Regions from separate parts of the Homo sapiens genome. Here all the other regions are linked to region 2. The links are contacts of gene promoters, found by promoter capture Hi-C in blood cells and fetal thymus (Javierre and others, 2016). All regions are on one chromosome and are shown on one strand. The core of a region is centred on a gene start or on the middle of the fragment in contact, and the rest is flanking DNA. Distances in the headings are between cores, read along the strand shown.

What was found. The method cuts DNA at HindIII sites, captures the fragments that hold promoters and counts their contacts. A CHiCAGO score of 5 or more calls a contact.
Region 1: a contact is called between a fragment that was not itself captured here and the fragment with the promoter of CHRNA9 in region 2, in 12 of 17 cell types (total CD8 T cells, naive CD8 T cells, activated CD4 T cells and 9 more). The highest score is 11.1, in total CD8 T cells.
Region 3: a contact is called between a fragment that was not itself captured here and the fragment with the promoter of CHRNA9 in region 2, in 4 of 17 cell types (naive CD4 T cells, total CD8 T cells, non-activated CD4 T cells and 1 more). The highest score is 5.9, in naive CD4 T cells.
Region 4: a contact is called between a fragment that was not itself captured here and the fragment with the promoter of CHRNA9 in region 2, in 9 of 17 cell types (naive CD8 T cells, total CD8 T cells, total CD4 T cells and 6 more). The highest score is 10.5, in naive CD8 T cells.

Annotation. Positions count from the first base shown.
Region 1 is chr4:40,161,949-40,164,648 of GRCh38, forward strand. It overlaps a transcript of N4BP2 not described here. Among named protein-coding and RNA genes, the nearest start is that of RHOH, 34 kb to the right of the region's middle. The HindIII fragment of the contact is 1,496 bases long and covers 688-2,183 here.
Region 2 is chr4:40,334,012-40,336,711 of GRCh38, forward strand. It overlaps CHRNA9 (cholinergic receptor nicotinic alpha 9 subunit), which reads left to right and starts at 1,322. Exons shown (of 5, transcript NM_017581.4): 1 at 1,322-1,520; 2 at 1,816-1,961. The coding sequence starts at 1,457. The HindIII fragment of the contact is 7,151 bases long and covers 1-1,699 here.
Region 3 is chr4:40,106,663-40,109,362 of GRCh38, forward strand. It overlaps N4BP2 (NEDD4 binding protein 2), which reads left to right. Exons shown (of 18, transcript NM_018177.6): 5 at 238-362. Among named protein-coding and RNA genes, the nearest start is that of N4BP2, 51 kb to the left of the region's middle. The HindIII fragment of the contact is 4,124 bases long and covers 1-2,700 here.
Region 4 is chr4:40,124,177-40,126,876 of GRCh38, forward strand. N4BP2 (NEDD4 binding protein 2) reads left to right here. Exons shown (of 18, transcript NM_018177.6): 11 at 1-29; 12 at 1,958-2,154. Among named protein-coding and RNA genes, the nearest start is that of N4BP2, 69 kb to the left of the region's middle. The HindIII fragment of the contact is 5,124 bases long and covers 1-2,700 here.

The DNA of each region.
Region 1 (2,700 bases), core at 186-2,685, 170 kb before region 2:
GCCACAGCTGTCTCTTAACCATTCTCAAAGCTGGTGACTAGGCACCAGAAAAGTGTTGTAGAAATAGTCTCCATCATTTGCCTTTTGAACAGAATGAGCCGTACCAGTGGATAGATGGCCTCCACCTTACTTATGCCTCCGAAATCTCACTGGAGTGTATCTAATTGGTAGAAACTATTGTATTCTAATATATATAGAATTTTACCTTCATCAAAGATCTGGGAAATGTTCTTTTAAACTTTACGGAAAGGCTCATTAGAAGTAGAGCTGGGGCTGGGTGTGGTGGCTTATGCCTGTAATCCCAACACTTCTGGGGGCGAAGGCAGGCAGATCACTTGAGGTCAGGAGTTCAAAACCAGCCTGGCCAACATAGTGAAACCCTGTCTCTACTAAAAATACAAAAATTAGCAGGTGTGGTGGCACATGCTTGAAACCAGGAGGTAGAGGTTGCAGTGAGCCAAGATAGTGCCACTGCACTCCAGCCTGGGTGACAGAGTGAGACTCTGTCTCAAAAAAGAAGAAGAAGTAGAGCTGGAGGATGAGTATCAAATGCTCATATTTGCTACACCGATGATACTTGTCCAACCAGGTATAGAAATAAAATGGCTTGACATATTAGTCACAAAAGCATTGCATGTCAACTGGGATATTTAGAGGTATGCCAGGGAGTACCCCAAGTCCAGGATAAGCTTAGGATATATTTCAGGAGCACTGGTTTTACTCAATGGCAAATAATACACATTATTATTTAATGTAGCTTATTGGTGTATGTATTAGGGTTCTCCAGAATGAATAGGAGATAGATAGGGGATTTATCAGGAGAATTGGCTCCTGTAATTTTGGAGGCTGAGAAGTTCACACCAGGCCATCTGCAAGCAGGAGAACTAGGGAAGCCAGTAGCATGGCCAAGTACAAGTCTGAAGGCCACAGAGCCAGGGAAGCTGATGGTATCTTTCAGTTCAAGTGTGAAGTTCTCAAAATCCAAGGGGAGAGGACCCCATGTGGGCCTCTCCAAAGGCTGCTTGAGTGTCCTTACAACATGGTGGCTGGTTTCTCCAGAACAGGTAATCCAAGTGAGCAAAACAGAAACTGCAGTACCTTTTATGACTTAGTATTGGAAGTTTTTTGCAGTTATCTGCCAAATTGTTTGTTAGAACCAAGCCATTAAATTCAGCTAACTTTGAAGCACAGGAGAATTAGCTCTACCTTTTGAAGGATACAATGTCAAAGGATTTGTGTATGTATTTGGAAGCCATTATGTTTACTATGAACTAGGCACCACTGGGTACTTTGCAAATGTACCTAGTATAATCATAACCACCCGCTGGGGTAGGTATTATTGCCCACATGGCCGACATTGTTGTCTTACCCAACAGTTATTCTTTCTATTACAGCTCTTTTTGTTCAGGCATCTGGTGGCAGTGGGCTCAGGGAAGATCAACCCCTCTGTAGCTCCTGCAGGTGAATTTTGATTGGTGGAAAAGCCAATCATGGCAATGCCATTTCCCCTTGCCAGTGATTAGTTGGAGGATGGATATATGATCATACCAACAAGAATTCTGCTAGATTGGTTCTGGGAAAGGTTTTCCTCACGAATACAGAGAAACACATAGGAAGAAATGCATTCTTGTTCAGCAAGACTTTGTGTCTGTATGTGATGTCTGGAATTGCAGTTGCCTTGTTGAAACCATGAAGAGACAAACCTAAGGCCCAAGCCAATGTGCTAAGGATGGTGAGTGTAGAGAAGAAAAACCCTCTGTTCTTGATGATGTCATTGAGCCCCTGAATTAACTAACCCTGGAACTGACCTTTAGTGGCCTTGTTATGAGAGACAATAAGCTGCCTTTGTTTGGGTTTTGTGTTACACCTGGAAGCATCCTAATGATTTGATATACCCCTTTTTACAGACTAGGAAACATGTTCAGAGAGATTATAGAATTTGCGAAATCTTTCCCGGCTATTAATAGCAGAGCCGGGTTTCAGACTGAGATGTCTATGTTCTAAGCACCTGGTCTTTTATCAGTTAAGTGACTTTTCTCCAGCAATTCTCAGGAATCAGAGAGGAGAAACAGAGACATCAGTTGGTTTCAGCAGAGGTAGTGATTGGCGGATAGGTATGGGAAGGGTTCAGTGTGGGAAGGAAAGGAGACAAAATTCACGATGCTGTATGTGTAAGGTTGAAAAGCTTGACTGTGAGATACAGGCTGGTAAGGAGTCAAGTGGAATCCAGAGGGGGCTGATAGACTGGAATAGTGGAGGTGAGCAGTGAAGGTATAGTTGAGGAAAGAACAGATTCAGAAAGTTTGAGGGGGAGGGAAAGTGGAAGGAGGTTGTAGGAAGGAACCTTGAGAACTTCAGAGTTCAGAATATTAGGATGTGGGTATTTGTTCCTAAGGGAGTTTGATTTGTGGCTGAGCATGGAGATGATGGTAGTCGGAGTGGAGAAGGTCACAGAATTGATACCAAATTTCTGGATCATCCACTTTGTGTACATATTACCTAGAAAAGTGACAAGCAGTGCAGTAGAGAGGAAGATTGAAAGCCAGTCTGCTGGAAGTCTGGGTGAAATAAAAATGTTTTCTTTATTTGCGTGGTCTCCATTCTTCACATGGATAGGATCTGACTCAACACAGCCCCATGTTGAAGAAAGAATTATAAGGATTAATCTGTTTTAATCTGCTGCTTTGTCAAGACTGGAGA
Region 2 (2,700 bases), core at 72-2,571:
GGAGGACTGAGCGTGGGCACCCGGAATTGTGTCATTTGATGAATGAGTCAGACTAGGGGCGTCAGAAAAATAATGTCTTCACAATCAACACAATGGGATAGGCAATTAAGAAACACTTTGCCGATGGCTTGAGTGTCTGTTCCACTCAGAGGATACATTCCCGAAGAGGGATGGGGTGACTCATCAGGCGGCTGTAACCTGATGAAACAGAGCTATCCAATTTCCTCGCTCCAATTCCAGGCAACCAAATTATCTTAATATGGTTTTCCAAAGCAGTTTCCCCAGGCAAGAGGAGAGACAGACATGAGTTTCCAGACTAAGCAGCAATTGAAAATTGACATTTTTTTATAGGAGTAAAATTATATCACATATGAGAAATGACTGAAACTTTATATGAAGTAGCATTCAAATGCAAAGGGTGTCATCATTAGCAATATCACCATTGGTTATTATTCTCATGCTGATTTGGTCAGCCTTTGAACCAGTTTTTCTTTTTTTTTTTCGAGCTGGTAAATCCTGGGTGACTTGGTGAGTATAGAAATTCTGGGTATGCAAAGCTGATCAAAGATGATAATTACTGATATTTAGAAAGTGCTTTCACATACAGTTATCTCAGTAGCTCTAGAGAGAGAAAATATTATTTTCCCCAGTCTGTAGTTCTGGAAGGCTCAGAGAGGTTAGGTGACTTTTACAGAATAATAGAGCTCGTCAGGGTTTGGCTGGCAGTCAAACCCAGGTGGTCAAGTCCAAATCCAACTCACAGTGTTGCTGCTTCTTAAGCGAGTGATTATCCGCCCATCCAGCACACCCCCTCACATATATACTCACAAACATTTACTATGCAAGATCCATGCCCAGTGGGACAGCTGCAGGAGGGATCAGAAGCTGAGGCAGAGAAAAAACCAAAATGCCAATATATTCTGGAGATCATAGAACCGTGTCTCTTTCCCTCTTCAAATGCTGCTAAAAGCACGTAGAGTCTTTCTGGACAGCCGTCCCATGGCTCAGTCTTTTAGGCTTCCCTTAGTCCCTGGACTCAGGCTGACTCTGCTCATGGTGGGTGTAGAAATCTCCCATTCTGCTTAGATGGAGTCTCTGGGGTGTCAGGCATACCCCTGTTGCCTGCATCTACCTCCTTTTCTGTCTGGTTGTTTCTGCTGAGGGTGGCTAGGGACCCTCAACTGAGATGGCCCCCCACAACAGCACTGTTGGACCTAACACACCCTGGGTTCCCGGCTTCTCAGCCACTGGAGCTGCCAGTCTCAAATTACCGGAGGGGAGGGAGGGCAGGCCTGGATCTCAGGATCTCGGTCCTGCATGCAATGCAAGCCTGAGCTCTCCCGCCATAAGGCTGCAGCGGTGTGGGCTCCTTGTGCCCAGATCCTTTGTATTCATAGGGGGAAGTGGAAGACCACGCTGCCTGACTGAGACTTTATTATAGAGGCTCAGGAAAAAGATGAACTGGTCCCATTCCTGCATCTCCTTTTGCTGGATCTACTTTGCTGCTTCCAGACTGAGAGGTGAGAGGCTGGTGACACGTAACCTATCTTGTCTCATCTGGGGCTATTGCTTTGGTGGGAGGTGGGGCAGGACAGGGAAGACAAAACAGATGATTCAACCGCATGGAAGTGTTCTGTGCTTCCTACTGACTCTGATCTTGGTAGGGCATGCCAGAAAAACAACTCATCCATCCACCCAAAGCTTGTCCCTCGCCAGTGTTGGGCCATCCCCCATTTTAGACCTCAGTCTTGTGTTGTTTGTCTTGAAATACACACAACACTCTGAATGTTAATCCAGATCCCTCTTGTTGAGTAGCTGCAGAGACGGCAGATGGAAAATATGCTCAGAAGTTGTTTAATGACCTTTTTGAAGATTATTCTAATGCTCTTCGTCCAGTGGAAGATACAGATAAAGTCCTGAATGTGACCCTGCAGATTACGCTCTCTCAGATTAAGGATATGGTGAGTAACACATGGTGCTGACTCTGTGGAATGATTCTTAGAGGATAAACAACCATGCTTTCTGAAGAGAATGTCTTAACTGGGAATTTGAGAGGGAATGATAGCTCCTTAAGCAAGCTGGTGGGAGAAGAGAATGTCGGGAAAAGGAAGCTTTCTACAAAACTAATTAATTTCAAGAAACGTTACCTAATCCTGGTCATTAACTGTAACAGTCTTAGATAATCTAAAGAAAGATGGGGTTACATACTGTATGCAGCCATTTATATAAAATGTCCAAAAGAGGTAAATCCGTAGAGACAGAAAACGGCATAGAGGTTGCCGGGGTCTGTGGGGAGGACGGGGAAAACGGCCAGTGAGTTCTTAATGATTACGGCGTTTCTTTGCGGGGGGAAGAAATGATCTTGAATTAGGCAGTGGTGATGGTTGCACAACGTTGTGAATATATTGGAAGCCGGTGCATTGTTCCCTTCGAAAATGATTAAAATGGTGAGTTTTAATGTGAATTTGATCTTAATTTTTTTTTTGAGACGGAGTCTTGCTGTCACCCAGGCTGGAGTGCAGTGGCATGATCTCCGCTCACTGTAAGCTCTGCCTCCTGGGTTCACACCATTCTCCTGCCTCAGCCTCCTGAGTAGCTGAGACTACAGGCACCCGCCACCACACCCGGCTAATTTTTTTTTTGTATTTTTAGTAGAGACAGGGTTTTACCGTGTTAGTCAGGATGGTCTCAATCTCCTGA
Region 3 (2,700 bases), core at 149-2,648, 230 kb before region 2:
CTCAGCCTCCCTAGTAGCTGGGACTATAGGCGCATGCCACCGTACCTGGCTAATTTTTGTATGTTTAGTAGAGATGGGATTTCACCATGTTGGCCAGGCTGGCCTTGAACTCCTGGCCTCAAGTGATCCACAAAATGATAGTACTTGAATAATTTATTTTGTTTATGACTTTGGAAAAATTAGGAGAGAAAATTTAGAAGAAAAGGTAATGAAAATTATTTCATTTATCTTTCACAGGACTTTGCAAGAGGATAATCCAAGTGGAGTCATTCTTAGTACTGATGATTATTTTTATATAAATGGACAGTACCAGTTTGATGTAAAGTACTTAGGAGAAGCACATGAATGGAACCAGAATCGTGGTAAGAACAGATAATCAGATTCTGGGTAACGTTATGAGTAATACAAAGAAAAAATTCACTTAGTATTTGTTTGTGTGTTTGTTTTTGTTTTTTGAGACAGGGTCTCGCTGTGTTGCACAGGCTAGAGTGCAGTGGCATGATCTTGGCTCACTGCAGCCTTGACTTCTGGGTTCAGGTGATCCTCCCACCTTAGCCTCCCAAGTAGCTGGGACCACAGATGTGCCACCATGCCTGGCTAATTTTTGTATTTTTTGTTGTCCAGCCTGGTCTTGAACTCCTGGGCTCAAGCAATCTGCCTCTCTTAGCCTCCCAAAGTGCTGAGTTTGCAGAAGTGAGCCACTGCGCCCAGTTAAATTGGCTTAGTATTTTTTTTTTTTCGAGATGGAGTCTCACTTTGCGCCCAGGCTGTAGTACAGTGGTGCAATCTGGGTTCACTGCAACCTCTGCCTCCTGGGTTCAAGTGATTCTTCTGCCTCAGCTTCCTGAGTAGCTGGGATTACAGGTGCATGCCACCGCACCTGGCTAATTTTTGTATTTTTTATAGAGACGGGGTTTCCCCGTGTTGGCCAGGCTGGTCTCGAACTCCTGACCTTAGGTGGTCCGCCTGCCTTGGCCTCCCAAAGTGCTGAGATTACAGGTGTGAGCCACCGTGCGTGGCCTATAACTGTATAGTATATATAAAATTTTAACTGTCATTAACATTAATTCTTATGTTACATAGTAAGAGGTGAGTTTATTTCATAGGGTGGTTATAAGGATTCAAAGAGTTAATTTTTGTAAGGTACTTAGAATATTGTGTGGCATATTTAAGTTATCAGTAGGGATCTTTTGAGAAGTAAATCTAATTTTCTGCTTGGGTCTCAGAATAGCTGTAAGGAAATTGCAGTTGTTTCCTATGTATCTTTTTTTTTTTTTTTGACACAGTATCTCGCTCTGTTGCCCTGGCTGCAGTGCAGTGGTGTGATCTCGGCTCACTGCAACCTCCGCCTCCCACGTTCAAGGGATTCTCATCCTCAGCCTCCCAGCCTGAGTAGTTGGGACTATAGGTGTGTGATACCATGCCTGGCTAATTTTTGTATTTTTAGTAGCGACGGGGTTTTGCCACATTGGCCAGGGCCAGGCTTGTCTCAAACTCCTGGCCTGAAGTGGTCTGCCTAACTCGGCCTCTGAAAGTCCTGGGATTACAGGTTTGAGCCACCATGCCCAGCCTGGTTACTGCTTTCTAAAATGGAATTTGAACCACCAGAAATGGAATTTGACCAGTTAACCACTGGTTTTCCTTAGATTGGTTTACTCTTTTTTTTTTGAGACGAAGTCTTGCTTTGTTGCCCAGGCTGGAGCGCAGTGGCGTGATCTCGGCTCAGTGCAACCTCTGCCTCCCAGGTTCAAGCGATTCTCCTGCCTCAGCCTCCCCCTGAGTAGCTGGGATTACAGGCACGTGCCACCATGCCTGGCTAATTTTTGTATTTTTAGTAGAGACGGGATTTCACCATGTTGGCCAGGCTGGTCTTGAACACCTGACCTTGTGATTCACCTGCCTCGGCCTCCCAAAGTGCTGGGATTACAGGCATGAGCCACTACGCCTGGCAATTGGTTTACTTTTTATGGAAGATAGTGTGAGAATAAAAACGACTCTCTAAACTGAATCTGTGGGGACATCATAGGTAAAAATTTAGTTTCCTTGCTAGTGTAACTGTCTATTCAGTGAAGATAGTTTTATCATTAAATGTTTATTTGCATAGTTTGAATTTTCTATGGAGAATCTTGTTAAGATATAGGGACTGTATTTTCCTCAGTTTTTTTTTTTTTTGGAGACAGAGTCCTGCTCTGTTGCCAGGCTGGAGTGCGGTGGCGTGATCTTGGCTCACTGCAATGTCTGCCTCCCGGGTTTAAGCGATTCTCCTGCCTCAGCCTCCTGAGTAGCTGGGACTACAGGCATATGCCACCATGCCCAGCTAGTTTTTGTATTTTTAGTAGAGACAGGGTTTCACCATGTTGGCCAGGATGGTCTCGATCTCTTAACTTTGTGATCCACCTATCTCAGCCTCCCGAAGTGCTGGGATTACAGACATGAGCCACCACACCTGGCCCTCAGTCTTTTATGATAAGTGTACTGTAAAGGTGATTCTTGGGTTTGCCATCTTCAGACATTGTTAAATTTTTATATATTCTTTTTTGAACTAAAGATTAAGAATTCAGGAATCTGAAAATGCCAACATAACTAAAACCAAAGGAGGCAGTATGATTTGGTGATGAAGATCACCCTTGGATTCACCAGTTACTAGCTATATGATCTTGTGCAATTTACTTATACTTTCCAAGGCCCAGTGTCCCCTTT
Region 4 (2,700 bases), core at 51-2,550, 210 kb before region 2:
AGAGGTGTCTTGTGGCAAGTTTATGCAAGGTAAAGCACATGTTTTTATTTCTAATGTCTTAATGTTGAAATTTGGTGTGTGTGTTTGAATTTTAACTCATTCTAAATTACTTCCACAAAATACGGTACCCACAAATTTTGATTTGCAAATAAAAGTTTTATTTATTTATTTATTTATTTTTTTATTTAGAGATGGAGTCTTGCTCTGTCGCCCAGGCTAGAGTGCAGTGGTGCCATTTTGCCTTACTGCAACCTCTGCCTCCTGGGTTCAAGCAATTCTCCTGCCTCAGCCTCCCAAGTAGCTGGGACTACAGGTGCGCACCACCACACCTGGCTAATTTTTGTATTTTTAGTAGAGACGGGGTTTCACCATATTGGTCAGGCTGGTCTTGAACTCCTGACCTCAGGTGATCTGCCCACCTTGGCCTCCCAAAGTCCTGGGGTTACAGGCATGAGCCACTGCGCCCAGCCAGTTCTTTAAAAATATTTAATATTTTATTGATATGAAATAAAATAAAACTTAAAGGGGGAAAAAGCCCCTATAATGTATATTGAACTTTCATGAGTGCTGTGGAACACCTAGGGTATGCTCTCAAAGCATTTCCTGTTGAGGTTTTGCTCTGCATGAAAGAAAACTTTTGGTTTGAGAGCAACAGAGTGTTCATGTGTTTGATCAAGAACATCATTGAAATATTACTTGGTTATTCAAAGTTTTTATTGATGTCAGTATTGTTAGACCACAAAACCCAGCCTGCTTTTTGGTACATCCTGCCAACTTGAAAATATTTGATTCCAGATGACTTCTCTTAGATAGTGTTGTCTTCAGTGACTGTTGCAGGGTGGCAGACCTGTTATTAAGCATCCTCCTTTTGTGCCTGAGTTCCTCCACATGCCTCTGTTGTCCAGTCCACACTGGGACCAAGGCAAGGAGTTTCACCTTGAAGATTCTTAGGATCCACTTTGGTCCAGACCTGTGCTCATGTCATAGCCTCAAGAGCTACAGCTGATGTAGGGATAGAGGTGCCCAAAGGATGGTGTGCAAATGCCAGTGTCTATTGTTTCTTCACTCTCTAGGACAGCAGAGGAATGTATCAGAATGTGTTGATACTCCTCTGAGAAGTTGAAATGTTACACATTAAATTCTGTTGTTGTGAACTTCCTAGAATGTTCAGTTCCTTATTTTGAATATCATTTGCCCACTCTTTATTGTGTGCCTTCACTGAGTTACAGGTTTGCCAAAGTAATCGATCTTCTTGGTCCTTAGAATGGGTGGCCAGAGCAGACTGTAGCTGTTATGGTTGCTCACTTCCAGCTGGCTACAACTTCCTCTATTTACCAGTGTCCTGTATACATGTCACTATGTTTTGGGTTGATATGATATGAAAAAGAGTGGGAAGCATTGAGTCAGTTTAAAATTATACACAGCCTGGCCGGGTGCGGTGGCTCACGCCTGTAATCCCAGCACGTTGGGAGGCCAAGGCGGGCGGATCACCTGAGGTCAGGAGTTCAAGACCAGCCTGGCCAACATGGTGAAACCCCCGTCTCTACTAAAAATACAAAAACTAGCCAGGCATGGTGGCGGGCGCCTGTAATCCCAGCTACTTCGGAGGCTGAGGCAGGAGAATTGCTTGAACCTGGGAGGCGGAGGTTGCAGTGAGCCGAGACTGCGCCATTGCACTCCAGCCTGGGCGACAGAGCAAGACTCCGTCTCAAAAAAAAAAAAAAAAAAAATTATACACAGATCATTACTCTTTTAAAATATTGCTACATTAACACATACTATTTCTTACTTGCGATGACGTGAAGATGTATTTTACAATTTCAGAGTTGTGTTATATTTACAAACTGAAAATTAAAAAACTGTTTCCTTGGTCTCTGAGGTAAATATAACAGAGTGAATAATGTTTAATTTATACATTTATTGTTGAGAGTATGACAGTATTTATACTACTTTGTAGATCCTTCCTTGGTTGGACATACTGGGCTTGATAATCCTGAACAAAAATCATCTCAGAGAACAGGCAAAAAATTACTGAAGACTTTAACAGCATCTGAAATGCTACCTTTATTGGATCATTGGAATACTCAAACTAAAAAAGTATCACTCAGAGAAATAATGTCAGAAGAAATTGCCTTACAGGAAAAACATAATTTGGTATGAATTAATATAAATATTAAGCTACTGTCTCTGATTCTGGTTTATTGTGTATGTTTACTTTGTGATTTTTTCAAAGTATTTTCTAGTCTAGAATCCATATTTAACCTGATTGAATTTAATGTTAAAATTGAAAAATATTTTAAGTATAATTTGAAGCTGGAGGTTTTTGCTTCAGGGAAATTAGTTAATACTCAACTATAAGCCATCCATGTTAAGTTTGTGTTGTTTTAGATTTAACTGTATAGGTGATTGAGCTGCATCTTTCTTTTTCTTTACCTTTTTTTTTCTTGATACATCGTCTTGGCTCTGTTGCCCACACTAGACTACAGTGGCGTGATCACAGCTCATGGAAGCCTTGACCTCCAGGGCTCAAGTGATCCTCCCACCTCAGCCTCCTGAGTAACAGGGACTACCATGCCTGGGTATTTTTATTTTATTTTTGGAGATGGAGTCTCGCTCTGTTGCCCAGGCTGGAGTACAGTGGTGTAATCTTGGCTCACTGCAACCTCCATCTTTCGGGTTCAAACGATTCTCCTGCCTCAG